7 separate regions of the Homo sapiens genome follow, and all the other regions are linked to region 7. Evidence: promoter capture Hi-C in 16 types of primary human blood cells and fetal thymus (Javierre and others, 2016). All regions are on one chromosome and are shown on one strand. The core of a region is centred on a gene start or on the middle of the fragment in contact, and the rest is flanking DNA. Distances in the headings are between cores, read along the strand shown. Region 1 overlaps RB1CC1 (RB1 inducible coiled-coil 1). Region 2 overlaps RB1CC1 (RB1 inducible coiled-coil 1). Region 3 has its middle 91 kb from the start of RB1CC1. Region 4 overlaps LOC105375835 (a long non-coding RNA gene). Region 5 has its middle 6.0 kb from the start of RB1CC1. Region 6 overlaps LOC105375835 (a long non-coding RNA gene). Region 7 holds the start of ATP6V1H (ATPase H+ transporting V1 subunit H).

What was found. Contacts are between HindIII fragments. The CHiCAGO score rates a contact against its expected background, and 5 or more counts as called.
Region 1: a contact is called between a fragment that was not itself captured here and the fragment with the promoter of ATP6V1H in region 7, in 10 of 17 cell types (non-activated CD4 T cells, naive CD8 T cells, naive CD4 T cells and 7 more). The highest score is 12.3, in non-activated CD4 T cells.
Region 2: a fragment that was not itself captured here is called in contact with the fragment with the promoter of ATP6V1H in region 7 in 8 of 17 cell types (non-activated CD4 T cells, activated CD4 T cells, fetal thymus and 5 more); the score reaches 12.4 in non-activated CD4 T cells.
Region 3: a fragment that was not itself captured here is called in contact with the fragment with the promoter of ATP6V1H in region 7 in 1 of 17 cell types (non-activated CD4 T cells); the score reaches 5.6 in non-activated CD4 T cells.
Region 4: a fragment that was not itself captured here is called in contact with the fragment with the promoter of ATP6V1H in region 7 in 1 of 17 cell types (naive CD8 T cells); the score reaches 5.0 in naive CD8 T cells.
Region 5: a fragment that was not itself captured here is called in contact with the fragment with the promoter of ATP6V1H in region 7 in 15 of 17 cell types (fetal thymus, naive CD8 T cells, total CD4 T cells and 12 more); the score reaches 26.3 in fetal thymus.
Region 6: a contact is called between a fragment that was not itself captured here and the fragment with the promoter of ATP6V1H in region 7, in 6 of 17 cell types (naive CD4 T cells, naive CD8 T cells, activated CD4 T cells and 3 more). The highest score is 6.8, in naive CD4 T cells.

What each region holds. Positions count from the first base shown.
Region 1 is chr8:52,678,766-52,681,485 of GRCh38, reverse strand. The region is part of intron 5 of RB1CC1 (RB1 inducible coiled-coil 1); the gene reads left to right. Among named protein-coding and RNA genes, the nearest start is that of RB1CC1, 34 kb to the left of the region's middle. The HindIII fragment of the contact is 591 bases long and covers 1,118-1,708 here.
Region 2 is chr8:52,702,666-52,705,365 of GRCh38, reverse strand. The region is part of intron 1 of RB1CC1 (RB1 inducible coiled-coil 1); the gene reads left to right. Among named protein-coding and RNA genes, the nearest start is that of RB1CC1, 10 kb to the left of the region's middle. The HindIII fragment of the contact is 8,152 bases long and covers 1-2,700 here.
Region 3 is chr8:52,803,809-52,806,508 of GRCh38, reverse strand. No RefSeq gene overlaps it. Among named protein-coding and RNA genes, the nearest start is that of RB1CC1, 91 kb to the right of the region's middle. The HindIII fragment of the contact is 3,510 bases long and covers 1-2,700 here.
Region 4 is chr8:52,776,338-52,779,037 of GRCh38, reverse strand. LOC105375835 (a long non-coding RNA gene) reads right to left here. Exons shown (of 7, transcript XR_001745898.2): 6 at 2,448-2,592; 7 at 1-2,172. Among named protein-coding and RNA genes, the nearest start is that of RB1CC1, 63 kb to the right of the region's middle. The HindIII fragment of the contact is 1,514 bases long and covers 610-2,123 here.
Region 5 is chr8:52,719,039-52,721,738 of GRCh38, reverse strand. No RefSeq gene overlaps it. Among named protein-coding and RNA genes, the nearest start is that of RB1CC1, 6.0 kb to the right of the region's middle. The HindIII fragment of the contact is 4,259 bases long and covers 1-2,700 here.
Region 6 is chr8:52,758,823-52,761,578 of GRCh38, reverse strand. The region is part of intron 2 of LOC105375835 (a long non-coding RNA gene); the gene reads right to left. Among named protein-coding and RNA genes, the nearest start is that of RB1CC1, 46 kb to the right of the region's middle. The HindIII fragment of the contact is 4,900 bases long and covers 1-2,756 here.
Region 7 is chr8:53,841,939-53,844,638 of GRCh38, reverse strand. ATP6V1H (ATPase H+ transporting V1 subunit H) reads left to right here and starts at 1,394. Exons shown (of 14, transcript NM_015941.4): 1 at 1,394-1,605. RefSeq lists enhancers at 1-8, 1,306-1,445 and a silencer at 1,086-1,235. The HindIII fragment of the contact is 7,596 bases long and covers 1-2,700 here.

The DNA.
Region 1 (2,720 bases), core at 164-2,663, 1.2 Mb after region 7:
TCTAAAGTCAGATTTTCTGAGTTTATGTCTGATTACTTCATTTACCTGTGGTGTGACCTTTTACTCATTTACCTTATTGGTAAATTTAAGAATAGATTTTTGTTTATTGAGATATACTGAAAAATGCACAAACCATAATTGTACATCCATTCTTAGTGAATTTTCACAATGAACACATTGATAAAAATAGTTTCAGGTGTGGTAGCTTATGCCTGTAATCCCAGCACTTTGGGAGGCCAAGGCAGGCGGATCATGAGGTCAGGAGTTTGAGACCAGCCTGACTAATATGGTGAAACCCTGTCTCTACTTAAAAAAAAAATGCAAAAATTAGCCGGGCATGCTGGCATGTGCCTGTAGTCCCAGCTGCTCGGGAGGCTGAGGTAGGAGAATTGCTTGAACCCAGGAGGCAGAGGTTGCAGTGAGCCAAGATCGCACCACTGCACTCCAGCCTGTGTGACAGAGTGAGACTTCATCTCAAAAAAAAAAAAAAACACACACACACACACACACACACACAAAACCCCACAAAAACAAATAGTTTCAACCCAGAAGCCCTACTTAGGACTTTCTCCCCATCAGTTTTCATCCTCCCTGTTCATTAATGCTAACCAGTATCTTGACTTCTAAACCAACATTACTTGGTCTCTTTTTGAATGTAAATAAATGGAATAATGTAGTTTCTGTTCTTTTGTGTCTAGCCTCTTTTACGCAACATGATGTTCCTGAGAATGATTCATGCTGTTGCATGTATCCGTGGTTTGTATTCTTTGCTGCATTGTATTCTATTGTACGAATATGCCACAGTTTTTTTTTAAATCTGTTCTGCTACTAGTAGGTATTGAGATTGTTTCCAGTGTTCAACTATTGTGACTAAACCTGCTGTGAATGTCCTAGTACATTCTTTTGACTACTGTAGTGTAGAGAAATCAGAATACTTTGACAGTGTTAAATCTGTCTTCTCTTCTACTTCTGCAATCTCTTCTGTACCGAAATGTCCATAGTTCTTTCAGATTTCATCTTGAAATGGACTCAGTGCACACTGTCTTTTTTCTTCCATATATTAGCTATCATTTACATGGTAATTCTATTAATTTCACTTGTCTTGGTTGTTAAAGCTTGATTTAGACTTCTCTGTTTTCAGCCGTGTCTTCTTCCAGTGTAGCCTTCAATCAGTGATACGTTTCTTTTTAACTTATTTCCTGAGCTAAATCTCTGTGTTGAGTTCTTTTTTATAAAGCAAAATTAGACCAAGTTCTTAGGAAAAGAATTTGGTTATAATTTCCATTTGCTCTTGGAGAAAGTTTTTCTGCATTTAGTTTTTTTTACTTTTAATTCTTTTTTTCTACACTAAATTAGGGTAATTTAGTGTAGATTTCATGTTAAAATTTTTGCTTGTGTTTGAATGAATAGAATTATTCCTCTATAAGACAGTGTAGGAAAGGGTATAAGATAGCACTTCCTGGTGAGCAGGAAGCTGCCCTGGATCACAGGGGATCCCCAGTTAGAAGCAGAATCTATATGTGTAAGAGAGGGATGGAGATGACTTATTTTGTCCTTCTCCTTGGACAAAATTTAGCAGTTCTAGGGCTTTTTCTCACGTTTTTTCCTTTGGCTTTTTGCAAGTATGTAACATAAATAGGTATTATTTCTTCTGCTACTCTCTAATTTCAGATAGGGCCCCAAGAGGTTCTTGCTGTCCACCCAAGCTTCCCACAAGGAGGATTCAGTTCTCCCAAGTTTTGCTAAATGTCTGCAATAGTGGTGTGAACCTAAATTATCGTGAGACAGGTCACAATCAATTTAGAAAATTTATTTTGTCAAGGTTAAGGACACACCCAAGACATAGCTTCAGGGGGTCCTGGTAACATGTGCCCAAGGTGGTCAGGGTACAGTTTGCTTTTATACATTTTAGGGAGACATGAGACATGATTATGTGTAAGAAGTACATTGGTTTGGTTCAGAAGGGCAGGATAACTCGAAGCGGGGTCTTTCGAGTCCTTGATCAGCCTTTCACTCAATACATAATTTAGTCTGGCTCAGTGCATCTGCATTTTTACATAAACAATAAACAGTAAGACAGAGGAAGCAGATAGGCCTTTGTTTCAGGTCAGCAGAGGTGTGACTTTCTGTCCCGCACATATGAAGATATGCTGTCAGTTTACATTGTGAAGGTGAAATTCAGCAGAACTGTTTTAGGTTAAAGATCTTGAAGCCTACAAGAAATTTCCCTGTGGCAAAATTGTGAGGGAGGTATGTAGCTTTCTTATCTTTGTAGCTATCTTATTTAGGAATAAAATTGGAGGCAGGTTTGCCTGACATAGTTCCCAGCTTGATTTTTCCATTGGCTTAGTGATTTTGGGTTCCCGAGATTTGTTATTCTTTCACAGTGGGTGCCCTTTTTATTTGACCCAAGTTGATCAGTTTTCATATTCTTCACAGGTTTGCTGCATATATTGTATGTGTGGGGTGGTAGTTGTTTCCTGGTTTCATCAAGATGGTGTCTTGTTTCCCTTTTGTATTTGGTTGGTTTCATGAAGGAGAAGCAGGCAAAGACATCTTTACTTCATTATCTTACAACTGAAACTATTAGCCCTTTCTTATACACATATGGAATTAAGAACAGGTGAAGATAAGTCATTTCTTCAAGGCCAGATAGCCAGGGAGAAGAAGAACCTCTTTTCTCCAAGGCCAGTGCTCTTTACATTCATATCATTGTACTT
Region 2 (2,700 bases), core at 163-2,662, 1.1 Mb after region 7:
ACCTCCAGATAGTTTATTTTTCTTCATGCTATGGATAGCCATTTGTCATAATACCATTGCATGAAAAGTTGATCCTTTCTCCCCAATTTGAAATCCCACCATTATTGTATAGATACACAAGTGCAGGTATGCATGTATAAAGATCAATTTGGATCTGTTCAGTTTCATGCATTATGTTTATTAATGCATCATGATTCCTACTAACTTGTTAACTACCGTGTGAGTTATGAGTATGTTTGACATGTTTTGACAGTTGTTCTGTCCTACGAAGTCTCAGTATATATGGTAGGCAGTTTATAGTAATTCTTAGTGGGTAGAAACTAAAGACTGTTTAAGCAGAGGGTCAAATAATTTAAGAAAATCTTGTGTCAGTTGTTGAGTTACTAACCTGTTACTTTTAATTTAGAATTGGCTTGTGTTAACTTGTATAGTATTAAATATGGTTTCATTTTATAAAAGTTAAGAAGGACTTTATATAAAATGAGCATCAAGTCAGATTTTAGGAAATCGTGACTATTTGGTGAAAAGTAATACTTATGTACTAGGCTTATTTATATAAGGCTTATAAAGTTACTTTATAATTCCTTGAATAGCAGTTGATTTCTGTGCTTGTACCTTACTTAACAATTACATGCAATAACTTTAGTTCTAGATCATAGAGAGTCAACCCACTTACAGGATTTAATGGACTTTACGTAAATTAGGGGTACATGTACATAATAAGCATTCCCAAAGTTGCAAGTTAATAAAAGAATTAGCTCCTTTTAATGATTGTTTTCTTAAAAGAAATCATTGGTTTATTAAGTTTATCCTCTTAAGTTTTAGTAATGTGATCAGTGAGGGTAAACTGTCAGTTTCTAGTTGGAACTTGATTTTACATATACTTTTGTGTTTTTTTTTTTTTTTTTTTAATGTCACCTTTGTGTGAATTCTTGTCCATTCTTTCTCAGTCTAACTTTTGCATACCTCTCTTCATATTAGTATTATTGAACTTTTTGGAAGGCAGGTAATGTGCTTTTTATTACTTTTTGGCACTAACACACAATAAGTTTCTTAAAATTAGTATTTGTTCAGTGTGTTAGACTCATGTTTAATGTATGATTTGACTATTTATAGAAGATCAGAAGAATAATCTAGTGTACCCCTTTATGTTTTAAGATGACGAAACTGAGATTCAGAGAAATTGGATAACTCCTGAAATCACAGGAGTAAAGATGTGAAGCTAGGACTAAAAACCAGATCTCTTATTTCTTTCCAAGTATTTTTTATTTCAGGGTGACCAAATATGTACTTGGTTACTGATGTCCCTTTTTGCTGAATGTTTTTTAACAATTGTGGCATACAAAGGAGAGAATTCAGTTTCATGGGATCATGTTATTTTGATAGCATATAGGAGTATGTAACATAAAGTATACAGTCTTGTGAATAAATAGCGACAGTGTTCCTGTGGATTCTCTCTGAGCAACTTTCTGATTTCAGTTTTGGTTGCCGTAGTCCTTATCCATGGTTTTGACCGCAAACATTTATTGACTGTTTACTGTCTCTAGGTAGTATGTTAGGTATTGAGGTATGATATGTCATGACCAAAATTTTTTTTAGCCATTTGCAATACAGCTTGGGCGATGTAAGTTATTTGGCAAGTGGCAAAAAAGTGTAGCAGGGCATTTATTTATGTTCTGAATACCAACACTTACTTGAATAGTTGGAATTTGAAGTATGGGCTGTCAGTACTTCAGGAACAAGACCACTGACAGCCAGTACATTGAGGAAGACTTTACGACAGAATATTTGTGAATTCTTGGTTACATAATGGAAGCTGTGGAATGACATGAGTAGAGGCATGAAAATCCATTTATTCATGCACCTCATTTCAGGAGATCAGCCTAAATGGTATGGAGCTTCATGTAGGGACCCAAATAAAGGAAATAGTGGAGTGTCAGTCTAAGGAATTTATACTTGAGTAGAAGTTATGAAGCATTTTTAGTTTGGGGAGAAGTAAACATTAAAAGAATCTAAGATTATGTAGTTGGTGGTGTCATCTGAGATGGAATCTGCAGATAGTAGGTGCTCAGATAGGTAATTGTTAGAGCCCGATATGCAGTAGGAAGATCTGAATTAGATAGCTTAATGGGAATAAGGTGGAAGAGAGGATACACATACTTAGTAACTGTTTATGTGGAACCAAGGAGTACTTATTCATATATGATGTTAAAATATATTAAACCAAGTTGATTACTTTTTTTTTTTTAATATAAGATACTGGGAACACATTGGCTGATAAAGAAACTGCTGAAAATTAGCTACCTGCATGTGATCTCTCTCTGTTACTAAGTTACTATTTGGATTCTGCTTTGTCATTTGCTTAGAGTACTGCTACTAGAACCCCAAGAGTACATTTGCTTATGAAACCCTGTTTATTCAACAGATGCTTTTGAGTGCTTTGTGTTATGTCACAGAGTTACTTCCTGTCCCTAGAGAACATTTTGGGAATATTTACTGTGATTTCTTTTTTTTTTCTGCAACAGCCATATGAGGTAGGTATGATAAATATCCCCATTTACAGATTAGAGAATGGAAATTTAGACAGACATGTATTGATGAAGAAAGTTGTTTTCTTGTTTTATCTACATTTTTTTCTTCTTCTTTTCTTTTTTTTTGAGTCTCACTCTGCCAACCAGCTGGAATGCAGTGGCATGCTCT
Region 3 (2,700 bases), core at 5-2,504, 1.0 Mb after region 7:
AGGAATATTCTCCAGACAGCCCCCTCTGGAGCAAAGTTGAAAAGAAAAACAAATTCCTTTACTGTCTCTCCTTCTCTGAACTAATAATTATGACCGCGTTTTACAAATGTCTGTATTTAGCCAGTTTCTGTTTTTATTTTGATGCAACTGCAAGTCCACTAGCTATGCAAGGCCACAAGTTATGCTAAGGCAACAGTTATGCTATAGATTACATGATCTGTCACTGTATGATTGATTGCTTTTGTTCTGCTTCTGTAAATTTGCTTATAAAAACCCCACTCAGTCTTTGTTCAATGCTCAGCTTTTCAGATATGAATCCACTGATCTGGTGTACACCCAAATAAATCCTCCTGTTCCCCATATCAGTCTCTCTAGTCCTCTGTCTCCTACAACAGTACTACTCTTAATCTAGTCTACTAAAATAAAAATATTTTAAGTATTTTATTCTTCTTTCATATTCAGTTTTTTCATCTGATTTTTTCCTTTTTGGAAATGCATCATTTATTTACCATTATCCTTGTTTCAGGCCCTTTTCTCTGTCAGATTGTATGATTCGAATAGCTTCCTAGCAAGTTCACCCTGGTTCCAACTGCATTCGATGTGCCAGAAATAATTCTACAGTTCTACTGTCTGGATGGCACTTCTCTGACCCCAGGATGAATTCCCTTACTTATCGAATTAATTCCAAACTACTCCACTTGACTTTGAAGAGTCTTCACAACTGCCACCCTACCCTTCTATCCATTATTCTCACTGGATTTTAGCTTCCCTCTCTGATCTGCCAAGAAACGCTAATCACTGTTTTAAGCATATACCATACTAAATCTCATCTTCATGCCATTGTTCACTGTAATCCATTGCTTAGGGAGCTGCCTTTTCCTAAAGGATCAGGTTGAGTTGCTCCTCCATTAAGCTCCTTATGGTCATTATAAGTGTATTTGAACCTTTTAGAACCCTGAAGGTAATTTACACAATAGGTCACAGAATTACACCCTAATTATTCCTATATTCTAATTTGAATATTAACTTTATATTTTTTCATAAATTTTTAAGTTCTTAGAGACAAGACTGGTTTTTAATGATGCAAGATAAATATGCAAAGAAAATAACTTTCTGATATAGCAGCAATAACAAATTATAAAATTTAATAAGAATGGCCAAGAGAGGTGACTCATGCCTGTAATCCCAGCACTTTGGGAGGCCAAGGCAGGTGGATTGCTTGAGGCCAGGAGCTTGAGACCAGCCTGGCCAACATGGTGAAACCTCGTCTCTACTAAAAATACAAAAATTAGCTGGGCATGGTGGCACACTCCTGTAATCCCAGCTATTTGGGAGGCTGAGGCAGGAGAATTGCTTGAACCCAGGAGGTGGAGGCTGCAGTGAACTGAGACTGCGCCACTCCACTCCAGCCTGGCAACAGAGTGAGACTCTGTACCATCCCCCCAAAAAAAAGTAAAAAGGAAAAGATCCCATTTATAATATCAAAATGATGGTATAGATACGAAGGTAAATGGAAAGAAAAATATGCATCAGAGAAAAACAGAAAAAAAAGGAGAGACATGACATAGTTATTGTGGGAGACTTAATACTCTAAAAGGTCAATATCCCCCAAATTAATCTATTAGTATAAAATAACCTTTAAATATTCCATATTTTGACAAGCTATCTCTACCCCATTTAGGAAATAAATAATAAAAATTACCTAAATACTTTTAGAAAAAAATATAATATAGATTAACTTGCTCAAGCAGATAAAGCATTTTATCATTTTTTGGTAATTAAAACTGTGGTCTTGACATAACAATAGGAAAAATAAGAACAATGAGTCAAGAAGCAGAATTAATTAGGCATAATAATTTTTTTAATATAAGAAAATATCAGTTTAAATTTGATAAAAATGGGCTGCTCAATGTATGGCTGACAGCCTTATCTCCTAACTCTCATACTGAATACAAAAAGAACTATCAAGCAGATGAAAATTAGACTAAACCTTAGAAAATAAAACTAATAATTCCACTTTCTGAAATTTTGGTAATAGCAAAACAATTTAAAAATGACTGCATATTGATCATGGTAGAAGTACTTAAATAAATTATAGGATAAACACTATGCAATACCATTTAGCCACTAAAAGGAGTAAGGCAGACTTATCTGTACTGACATTTTACATTTCCAAGAAAGTAAAAAGAATAAGGCAGACTTATTTGTACTGACATTTAAAGTTTCAAAGACATCCTGTTGCATGGAAAAAGCAAGCAAAATAAGCAAACCTGTACTTGGATATCATTTATGGCTTTATAATGAGATCTACAGACGTGTGTAAATGCGTAGAGAAAGAGCTAGAATGCTGAGTGCTAAGCAGTGAATGTGGTTGCCCAGGCAGGCAAGGTAGGAGTGTGTGTGCAGTGAGGGGTTGGACAAGGAAAGTAGACCTTCATGTTTCACTGCAAGTTCTTCGGTATAGTCTAAACCTATGACATGGTAAAAAAGAGAAATACGTTTAATTAATTCATACCAAAGAACTTACAGGAAAATGGTACCATTGTCTGTTAGTAGACATGACATACCCAAACACACAAATCTTTAAAAGGAAAATACTGACAGATTAGATCATATAAAAATGTAAAATCTCTCTAGGTCGAAAAAACCCAAAAACAAGGTTAAGCTATAAGTCACATCTAATATAAATATTTTAAAATG
Region 4 (2,700 bases), core at 117-2,616, 1.1 Mb after region 7:
AAATAACTATTGAGCACTAGGCTTAGTACCTGGGTGATGAAATAATCTGTACAACAAAACCCCGTGACACAAGTTTTCCTATATAACAAACCTGCGCATGCACCCCGAGTCTAAAAGTTAAAGAAAAATATGTCCTAGCCTTAACAGTCTGTGATTAAAACTGAAGTCAATGTCCAAAGTGCAGTAGTTCCTCTGCTTCCCATCTGTTTCACTAGCAAGAGAGAATCTCCTAATAGTTTTAAGAATCCCCCTAGCTTTCAACCCTCAGTACCACAAATGTTACCAACGTTTGTTCAAGAGTTGGTCCTCTGTGTGGCTTGCCTGTTGCCCATAGGGAGAGCCGGACTCGACACTCCCCTGTAGGTAGACTCTTCAACCAGTCTGCCAGTACCCCAGTGAAGGGCCTGCTTCCACAGCACCGCCATCAGGCTGCCAGCTATGTCTGCACGAAAGCCATGGGGGGACAGCGGAGATCAGATCAGATCAACGGCTCCTCTTGACCCATGGTGGTTCACGCACCATTGTTGTCTTGAACTCCTATGCTATCTGTGGCTGCTTTCTGAATACCCAGCAGGTCATAGATCTAAAGTCCCATCTGAGCCAGAAGCTTCATGGCCTATTCACTGGCACTAGAGCAGCAGATGCAGTTTTATGCAAACTCATCCATTTTGAGTTCTTCTGAAAAGTACAAAAGAAGATACCAGGCTGGGCTTAGTGGCTCACCCCTGTAATCCTAGCACTTTCAGAGGCCAAGGCGAGTGGATCACTTGAGGCCAGGAGTTTGAGACCAGCCTGGGTAACATGGTGAAACCCCATCTCTGTAAAAAATACAAAAATTAGCCAGGTGTAATGGTGTGCACCTGCAGTCCCAGCTCCTCTGGAGGCTGAGGTGGGAGGATCTCTTGAGCCCAGGAGGCGGACGCTGCAGTGATCCATGATTGCACCACTGCACTCCAGCCTGGGCGACAGAGTGAGACACTATTTCAAAAAAAAAAAAAGGAAAATACCTTACTTTGATGTCACCATGCTTGATCAGTGACATGGCCCAGAAAAACTGCCTGGAACTCAAGACTAAGGTGATCAAAGCCCTTTTATTCCCACTTGTAGCCATTCTCGTGGTAGCCACATACTAGCCCAGAAGTTTCCTCCAGAGATCTAAGCCCCTCCATTTACAGGAGGGATGCCAGTGCCATGCATTCACTACACCCTGGAGAGGAGTTTGGGGCCTAAAAAGGGTCAGGTAGATGTTTTCCACTATGGAGAAGACCCCTGACCTCCAAAGCAGATTTCATAAGCTGCCTCATTTGAGGCCTAATTCCCAAACTCAAATGATGAAGAAACAGTAGTCCTACATTTAAAAACTACCATTCAGAAGAAAAGAAAAATCATTCAGTAATGCAGGAGAGTGCAGGAATTAACTGGCTTGAGTGAAGCATAGCACAGTGCTGGCACATAACAAGTTCTTGTTCACTAGTCCTTGTAATAATGGTGAGTATCAATGCATCATTGAGAGTAAAACTCATCTTCCCAAAGGAGAGCAAGAGATTTCCGTGACAACTGCTCAGGAGGAATCGCTGGACCCATTCTCTTCTCTGCCTTGTAGAACACTGAGGTTGGTACACAAAGATGTGTGGATTAAAGCTGTGGTTTCTGCCATAAACTCTCTTCCCCAGGTTAAAAGAGGGGAAAAGATCACCACATTGACCAGCACATCATGCACTGATTTCATGCACTTGCCTGGTAAAGGGAGACACACCACTGACTAGTTCCCTAGGGGAAGAAGTCCGTGGGTGTGTATGGGGAGTTATGTACTAGAGAGTGGGTAGGTAAGTAACTGTATCTACACAAATTATGGAGTGAAGTTGCTCCCTGGATAGAATGAGTCTGAATAGCACTGGGGCAGGCTCACAATGAATTCCATTTCTTGCTTCGATATTGAAAACAGAGTAACAATAAGTTGTGTCTGGGCAAAGGACATATGGGAAAAGAAAGTGATCAACTTTCACTTTATAAGGAAAATTAACACATAAAGTTCTTAAATAATTTTCAGTCAAATAAATTCTTATGTGACTTTGGGGCTTCAGAGATGCTGGTAAAAAGTCAAGACCGTGAAGACCAAAGCTTTCCATGCTGGGCAGTTGCCCCGGGCAGTTTGCCTTAGGTGGAGGGAACCTGGAATGGAGGAGCAGGAGAACAGGTTAAGGGGCAGACAGGCAGACCCTGAGGGGAAGGGGGGCTTATTCTGTGCCCACCAGAGACCCCCAGAAGGAATGTGTCATGAGCTGGTGGCTTCTGAAAAGGTTCTTCTGAGGTTGAACTGGGGATGCACTGGACAACCTTGAGGCTGAAGATGGGGTCTATTTTGAATCATGAAATCAGCTAATTTCAACATACATGAGGTGTTTGGTACACAAAGAACTATGACGGATGTCAGCTGATGGATTCACCTTAGTCCACTTCTGAGTAGAAAGGCCTGTTCATGCCTCCTTTGTATGCAGAGAGTAGCCCTGGAAGTTTGTAGATCCACAGATGTCTTCGAGGCATTTTCCAGATAATAAAATATGATTGTAGCTCAAATGCACTAAAATCAACCTATAAGAAAAATCAAGAAAACAGACTTGGTGATAGTAATAATTTTTAGTGACCACTGGTAATTTATAAAACTATGTAATTTGTCATTAGCTACAAGAACTAATTAGA
Region 5 (2,700 bases), core at 15-2,514, 1.1 Mb after region 7:
GCCTGGTCTATATTTTTACTTTTATTTTTGTAGAGACAGGGTTTCGCTATGTTGTCCAAGCTGGTCTCAAACTCCTGGCCTCAAGTGATTCTCCTACCTCAGCCTACCAGAGTGCTGAGATTACAGGTGTGAGCCACCATGCCAGGCCTGTTTTAAATATTCTTCTAAAATATAATATTAATGGCTGCATAGTATTTCATTATATAGATGTACCACGTTTTCCCTGAATTCTGAGAAAGGGGTTGATTTTGTCCCTCTGGGAACATTACAAAATGTCCAGAGGCATTTTTGATTGTCATAACTGGGGTGCTACTGGCATCTAGTGGGCAGAAGCCAAGGAGGTTCAACATCCTAAAATGTACAGGACAGCCCCTTATAACAAAGAATTAACTGGTAGGTATGAGATTGAGAAACTCTGTAACCTATTGCTAGACATTTTTTCTTTTTTTGTTTTTGAGACAGGGTCTCACCCTGTTGCCCAGGCTGGAATGCAGCAGTGCAATCTTAGCTCACTGCAACCTCTGCCTCCCAGGCTCAAGCAATCTTCCCACCTCAGCTTCCCAAGTGGCTGGAACTACAGGCGTATGCCACCACATGCCTGGCTAATTTTTTTTTTTTTTTGTATTCTTGGTAGAGATGGGGTTTTGCCACATTGTCCAGGCAGGTCTAGAACTTCTGAACTCAGGGCTATCCACCTGCCTTGGCCTCCCCAAGTGCTGGGATTACTGGTGTAAGCTGGGAGCCACCTTGCTGAGCCAATTTTTTTTAACCCCTGCAGGACCAGCACCAAATTAAGGGGGAGCATAGGCTATGCATAGGATATATAGGATATAGCCCGTACAATTGGATTACCTGGGTTCAAATCCTGGCCTTGACAGTTACTAATTTAAGAACACTAACTAGAAGGAAGTACATTGAATTAGCAACTTAACCACTCCATGCCTTATTGCCCCATCTGTAAAATCAAAGAAAATTTACAGAAACTGCATAGGGCTGCTAAGACAACTAAACAGGTTGATAAATTTAAAACCCATGTCTGGCATCTAAGATACACCCATAAGTGTTTCATGAGCTCCGTTAGGTCATGCTTTTTAAAAAATACATTTATTGACCAGCCGCGGTGGCTCACGCCTGTAATCCCAGCACTTTGGGAGGCCAAGGAGGGCAGATCACCTGAGGTCAGGAGTTCGAGACCAGCCTGACCAACATGGAGAAACCCCGTCTCTACTAAAAATACAAAATTAGCCAGGTGTGGTGGTGCATGCCTGTAATCCCAGCTACTCGGGAGGCTGAGGCAGGAAAATCACTTGAACCCGGGAGGCAGAGGTTGCAGTGAGCTGAGATTGCGCCATTGCACTCCAGCCTCCGCAACGAGAGTGAAACTCCCATCTCAAAAAAAAAAAAAAAGAAGCATTTATTTATAAACACTACTGAGGCACTGACAGAAATAGGAAGGCACTGACAGAAAAATCAGGAACAAAGAATCTCAAGGTTTGGGGCCTAAGTCATTGAATCTAATATCTCTGAAACCATTGGATGATAGTAAAATCGATGTAATGTGTAAGACTAGCAAGAGGAAAAAAAAACAATAGAAGGTATCAGAGTATATCACAAGCAGCAAGTACTTTTTCCTGTGTATGTATACCAGGTCACAATGTGAAACTGTATTTCTTAATGTGGATCACAGTAAAAGTTAGAAAGTCACCACCTGAAGTCCAACTACCACTTGACATTTGAATCAGTTCTGTATCTGTGTCTACATGACTGATTAACTTCTGCCTTAAGGCATTTTATAAACAGTGCCAGCTCTATTTTTGGACACTTTGCTAGGCAGCTCTTCAAAATAATGAAAGACAAGAACCTAATAAAACATGATGCAAAAAGATATCTCTTTCAATCTGAAAAATGACTACAAATGTTTTGTCTTAATCTATTGGTTTAAATCTTTCAGGAAATTAAGCATTCTAGAAGTGTTTTCTTGACTATGTTGCTGCAGCATTGGAAACAGTGTTGCTTATGAGCTCATCAAGTCATCACTAGCTTTGAAGATGGTCATTCCTAAGTTAGCCATCATCATTATTAGTATGTTTGAGTACCCACAAACCAGCTGAGAAGGGCAGCTTTCAGGTCTATAAGCAGTACTGAAAACATTAACTTAATCATCATAGTGCCAGCAGCCTCTAAATAGTACATAATCATATACACCAAATTAGTTATGGTTTTAAAAACAAAGTCCAAAACGTACATCTTTTTAACCCTTTTAAAAATGAACAATAATTGTGCCTCATACTTTGAATAAAGCCAAATTATGTGAATTGTGGTTGCTGGTTGTTTGAACATTGCCTAAAAGAAAATTAGGGTAATGACACTAAGTTGTTTGAGAAATATTTAATACATGTGCTGAATGCCTCAGGCAGAGTTGACAAAATTAAGATGTTTACCATGATCTTCCCAATAAACTGAATGTACTTTGGTAAAGAATTAATATCATATAAATTTGTTACTGCAATTATATTTATTTTTTTTTTCTTTTTTTGAGACGGAGTTTCGCTCTTGTTGCCCAGGCTGGAATGCAATGGTGCGATCTCGGCTCACTGCGACCTCCGCCTCCTGGGTTCAAGTGATTCTCCTGTCTCAGCCTACTGAGTATCTGGGATTACAGGCATGCGCCACTGGCTAATGTTGTATTTTTAGTAGAGA
Region 6 (2,756 bases), core at 215-2,714, 1.1 Mb after region 7:
TTAGCTTAAAAGATAGCTCGATCTGGCCAGGCACGGTGGCTCACATCTGTAATCCCAGCACTTTGGGAGGCCGAGGCAGGTGGATCCGAGGCCAGGAGTTCAAGACCAGCCTGGCCAAGAGAGTGAAACCCTGTCTCTACTAAAAATACAAAAAATTAGCCAGATAGGGTGGCAGGTGCCTGTAATCCCAGCTACTCAGGAGGCTGAGACAGAAGAATCGCTTGAACCCAGGGGGTGGAGGTTGCAGTGAGTGGAGATGACGCCACTGCACTCCAGCCTGGGCGACAGAGTGTGACTCCATCTCTAAAAAAAAAGATAGCAGGATCCAAATTATTTTTGACTAAATTACAACCTGTCACATGGCTAAACTTTGTTTCCCCCTGTAAATAATCCAAGGAAAGAAAAAAAATTTGGAGTAAAGCAGTTTCCATAGCAGTCTGATTTTTTAAAAGCTCTTTTACCTTTTCTTCTGCAGTTTCATAGGAGTTTCCAATGTTTACATTTTAGCTGGAACTGGCTGAATTTAATAAGAAAAATAAAATGTCCATGTAGCGTTGAATTAGCAAAACCATAAACAATGAGTTTTATCTCAACACAAGTAGCTTAATAACGGTAGATTCAAAGCAGGCAAAAAAGAAAAGAGAGAAATAGAGAAATCTAGAAGACTCTACTTAACTGTATAGTTGCAGGTTAATCATTTGAGCTTTGAATTTTTTTCTTGCTGTAATTTGCCCATCAGTTAAAAACTGTGTGCAAGGATGGGCCTGCATCCAGCTGGAGTCCTAGAAAATCTGTTGTGGCTTTGAACTTTTTCATCTTTTTAAATGTGTAAGCCACAGGAAATTCTACCCTTCTTTCCTTTCCTGCTCTAACAATTTCTCAGTAGCCGACCTTACCACATGGCATATTTGCTGTCCATATCATATTTTAACATCTTAGTTTTTTGTAATAGGTACTCAGTCCCCAGTGGTGTTGTCTGAGCATCCCTGTCCCCACACAGTGGCCCACAAAGGTTGAGCAGTGGGGTAACTCCACTCCACATTTATGCCTCTGACTACCCTGTGATTCCCCCAACAGATGCTCCTTCCTGATTCATCATTTGGTCTCTTAGATCCTAGGTTAGTGACACCAGTTGTTATGAGAAAAATCTGTAATGTCCCTTCCCAAACTGGGAAGGAGCCAAGAGACAAAAAGAATGATTTGAGTAAGTCCAGCTTGGCGAGTAGATGAATTGATTAGGACTTACATACAGTGCACTCCTGAGTGGCAGCAGGACATTTTTAGAAATCCATGTCACCATCCATCTCCAAGCTACTTTCAAGCTAATGATCTGGCTCTTTGGCTACTGCCTATGTGTGATGAGACTGTTTTCCTTGGAATGTTCCTACCTATGCCCGGGGATGTTTGGGTTCTCAGGGGCACCTGAACCTCAACTGGACACCCTGGCCTTGGTTCACTGCTTGGCCTTCAGCGAGTAAGCAGCGGACATCCACCCTTAAGTAATCAAGGTGGGGGACCTGTCACATTACAGGCAGTTGTATAGGGCAGATATCTACATCAACAACCTTGAGGAAATGGGAGGATATGGAGAGCTGGAAACTATTATTATGTTAAGGGCAACTAAGCCTTGCTTTTTGTATGAGGAAGTCCAACTTATATTCAAAATGCTTGCTAAGGCAGCACAAAATTACAATAATTCACTACAGCTTTATAGAACTAGAATCACTCCATTTACTAATGTGACCATAACTCTTATGGGAAACAATACATCTATCCATACAGATTTTATTTACAAACTATGGTGAATAATATTCTTTATACTTTTTCTATTTAAAAATATATAGTTCCCATGATAGGATGAAACTATAATTTGAATCATGTTAGCTATTATACTATCCCCTTGAAATGTCTAGAAATCTTATCATACATCAAAATCAACCTCACTTGCAAGAGCTACTATAGCTCCAAGAACAAGGAGAGTGACTGACATGTCTTAGCTGCTGTTGTAATATGAGAAAAACATGGAATATAGAATTCTGAAAGAAGACATGTATTTAGGAGACTGCCAGATTTAGACTACATGATGTCAAATATCCAGGAAAAAGCAGAAAATTTCCCTTAGATTGCTGTTTGCTTACAGATATCTGGAGATTTCACATGATGTAGACATAGCATTGTAAACAACTGCCTACATTCAACACCATTTATCCAAAAACTATATACTACTTGGAAACAGCCAAAACTCTGTACTATGAAGATACAAAGTGAGCTAAATACCTCCTTTGAGGCTTGTGCCAAACACAAATCTGACACCTGGCCTCTTCAACCATCACTCAACATTCAGTCATGTTTAACACACAATAGTTTCTTTTAGATTGGTCCGAATTGCCTAGAGCTTAGGACTAGTTCTAGGGATATGGAAAGAAAATAAAGTTTTAAACTTCCAAATGTAAAAATAAGATATTTCTTTTGTATTGCTGTTCAAATATTTAAATTATTTTTATTGATACATAGTATTTATACATATTTATAGGGTCCATGTGACATTTTGTTACATGCATAGAATATGTAATGATCAAGTCAGAGTGTTTAGGATATCTTTCACCTCGACCATTGATCATTTCTGTGTGCTGGGAGCATTTTAAACCTCTCTTCTAGCTATTGTGAAATATACAACACGTTGTTAATTATAGTAACCCTACTCTTCTATTGAACACTGTAACTTACTTATTTCTTCTATCTAACTGTATTTTTTG
Region 7 (2,700 bases), core at 145-2,644:
CCGAAATCTGATGAGACTCGCTGTATCACGCCAGTCTGTGGCTTAGGTGATACAGAAAGGAAATGCGAAGATCAGGCCTCACTGCCAGCTTTGCTCAGTTACACAGAAAACATGCTGTTTCAGCTTTTGGGAGTTTCTTAGTACACGATCGGTTTCTTTTTCTCTTTTATGAAAGTTTTTCCCCTTAGATTTGCTTTCAAAACAACAGACTTTCACTTCTGGCTAAGACAGAATGAGTGACCTAGTACAATCTTTGACACTGTTATTATATATCTTTATTCATAATCAATGCATGATTTTGATTATTCTGACTTTAATTTTACGAGTAAAAATGGGTTGGTTATAAATCCCTTTCAAAGAATTTTTTTTTTTTCTTTTTGAGACGGAGTTTTGCTTTTTCTGCCCAGGCTGGAGTACAATGGTGCGGTCTTGGCTCACTGCAACCTCTGCCTCCTGGGTTCAAGTGATTTTCCTACCTCAGCCTCCCAAGCAGCTGGGATTACAGGCATGCGCCACCACACCCAGCTAATTTTTTGTATTTTTAGTAGAGATGGGGTTTCACCATGTTGGTCAGCTGGTCTCGAACTCCAGACCTCAGGTGATCCACTGGCCTCGGCCTCCCAAAGTGCTGGGATTACAGGAGTGAGCCACCGCGCCCGGCCCCTTTCATTGCTTTTTAAGGAAAACATGCTATCATATATACTTCACCTCCAGGGCAGTACATTCTTACTTTAAGGCAAAGACAGTTGCTGAGGCCTGGACTAGGGGAAAATTTGGGCTCCAGATGGGACTGTTGGATAAAATACCAGACGTCCTGTAAATGTGAATTTTAGATAAACAACGAATAACTTTTTAGTATAAAAGTAAATACTGCAATGGAATTTATTATTTGCTAAATGTGCAACCCTAGGTTAAGAGAGCTTTTCAGACCCACTTCTCAGCCCGAGTTTTCTATTTAAAATCAGAATAAGAACGCCTGCTTCATGGAGCTGTTAAATCCAAATGGAAATTAATTTGAAAGCGCGAAATCAAACTTTTCAAAAGAATGACGGTTACAATAAGAGCGTTTTGGCCTCTGCTAGCTGCTTCCGGGCGGAGGTCCTCGGCCTCCCCTAGGCGAGGCACTAGGTCTGGGGGCGGCGGGTCTTAGCGTGCCCGCCACGCTCGCCGCCTCCCACCTGCCCTGGCTGGCTGGGGCCCGACCCTTGCGTCGCTCCGGGGCCCAAGTTACGGACTCGGGAATCCAGTTGTCCGCACCGAACAAGCCCCGCCGCAGCGCCCGCCCCTCCTCTTGCTGCTTTGGAGTCTCCCGGCTTCCGCCTTCCGCAGCAGTCACGTGCCTCCGATCACGTGACCGGCGCCTCTGTCATTCTACTGCGGCCGCCCTGGCTTCCTTCTACCTGTGCGGCCCTCAACGTCTCCTTGGTGCGGGACCCGCTTCACTTTCGGCTCCCGGAGTCTCCCTCCACTGCTCAGACCTCTGGACCTGACAGGAGACGCCTACTTGGCTCTGACGCGGCGCCCCAGCCCGGCTGTGTCCCCGGCGCCCCGGACCACCCTCCCTGCCGGCTTTGGGTGCGTTGTGGGGTCCCGAGGATTCGCGAGGTAAGGCCGCCCTCGCGTTGTTTGGTCTCAGGCTGCAGACCAGGTCAGGCGACTCTTGCAGTTTCTCCAGCTTGCCTGGTGCGTGCTGGTGTCTCGCCGCTTGGTCCTCTCCTGTTCTTCGGCCCCCGGTTGCCAGATTGCTTTTCTTCCAGGCCTCAACCAGGTTTATTAAGCGAAATTCTGGAGCCTTTCTCGCAGGGGGAAGAAACGTCAGGGGCGGGCAGGAGAGTGGAGGGGGAGGGGTAAAAAGTATACCTTCTCCAGGACTGGGCCACGGCCCTGGATCGCTGGGGGTGCGAGTAGTTCAGGGACTTAGGTAATTGTCTAGAGACACCTTGAGCTACGCCAGGACGGGCCGCTGAGGCTGAGCCTCCTTGGCTGCAGAGTTCCAGCCTGGCCCAGTTGAAGCCTGTTTTTTCCTGGGCCCTGTCGTTCGCGCTGCCCAGGGTTGTTTATACAGCAAATCTTCAGATACAGAGATTAAGTTCCAAATTGATTAAGATCGTTGGAAACCCGGAATATAATTTTGGGTAGGATTTTAACTTCTTTGTGGCCATGGCCGTGAATTTATGTTTTGCAAGTGGCAACCTGTATTTTGCTTTGTGTTAAAATCAGTCGTTTGTATCTGGAAGTTTAGGAGTGAGAATTACATAGAATTTCATTATTGTAGGTTCTTGTCGTCCAGCCAGACCGCCATTGTTGGCTTACCTAAATTGTAATATGTATTTGTTCTAAAACTTTCTCTCCGAATTTTGATTTTGCAAATACTATGAATTTTGTTTGAAAAGGAAAGCACTGTCTTCTAAGAAATTATGTTCCCACTTTGTGTATTTTAATTTGAGTAATTTTCGAAAGGACTTAGAATTTTTAATGTGCCACTTCAAAATGATGCTTAGTAAATGTTTATAAAACTAGCCTTATCCGTACTATTCATATTCTTATTGTTTCTCTATGAGAAAAGTTAACCACAATTGTATAAATTTACAATTTTTCCCATATTTATACCTATTCTATTTAATCATGATTTCTGATTTCAGTATATTAGGTGATTGCTTTAAAAATCTTACTGCAGTGTTAGTGCCAATAATGAAAAAA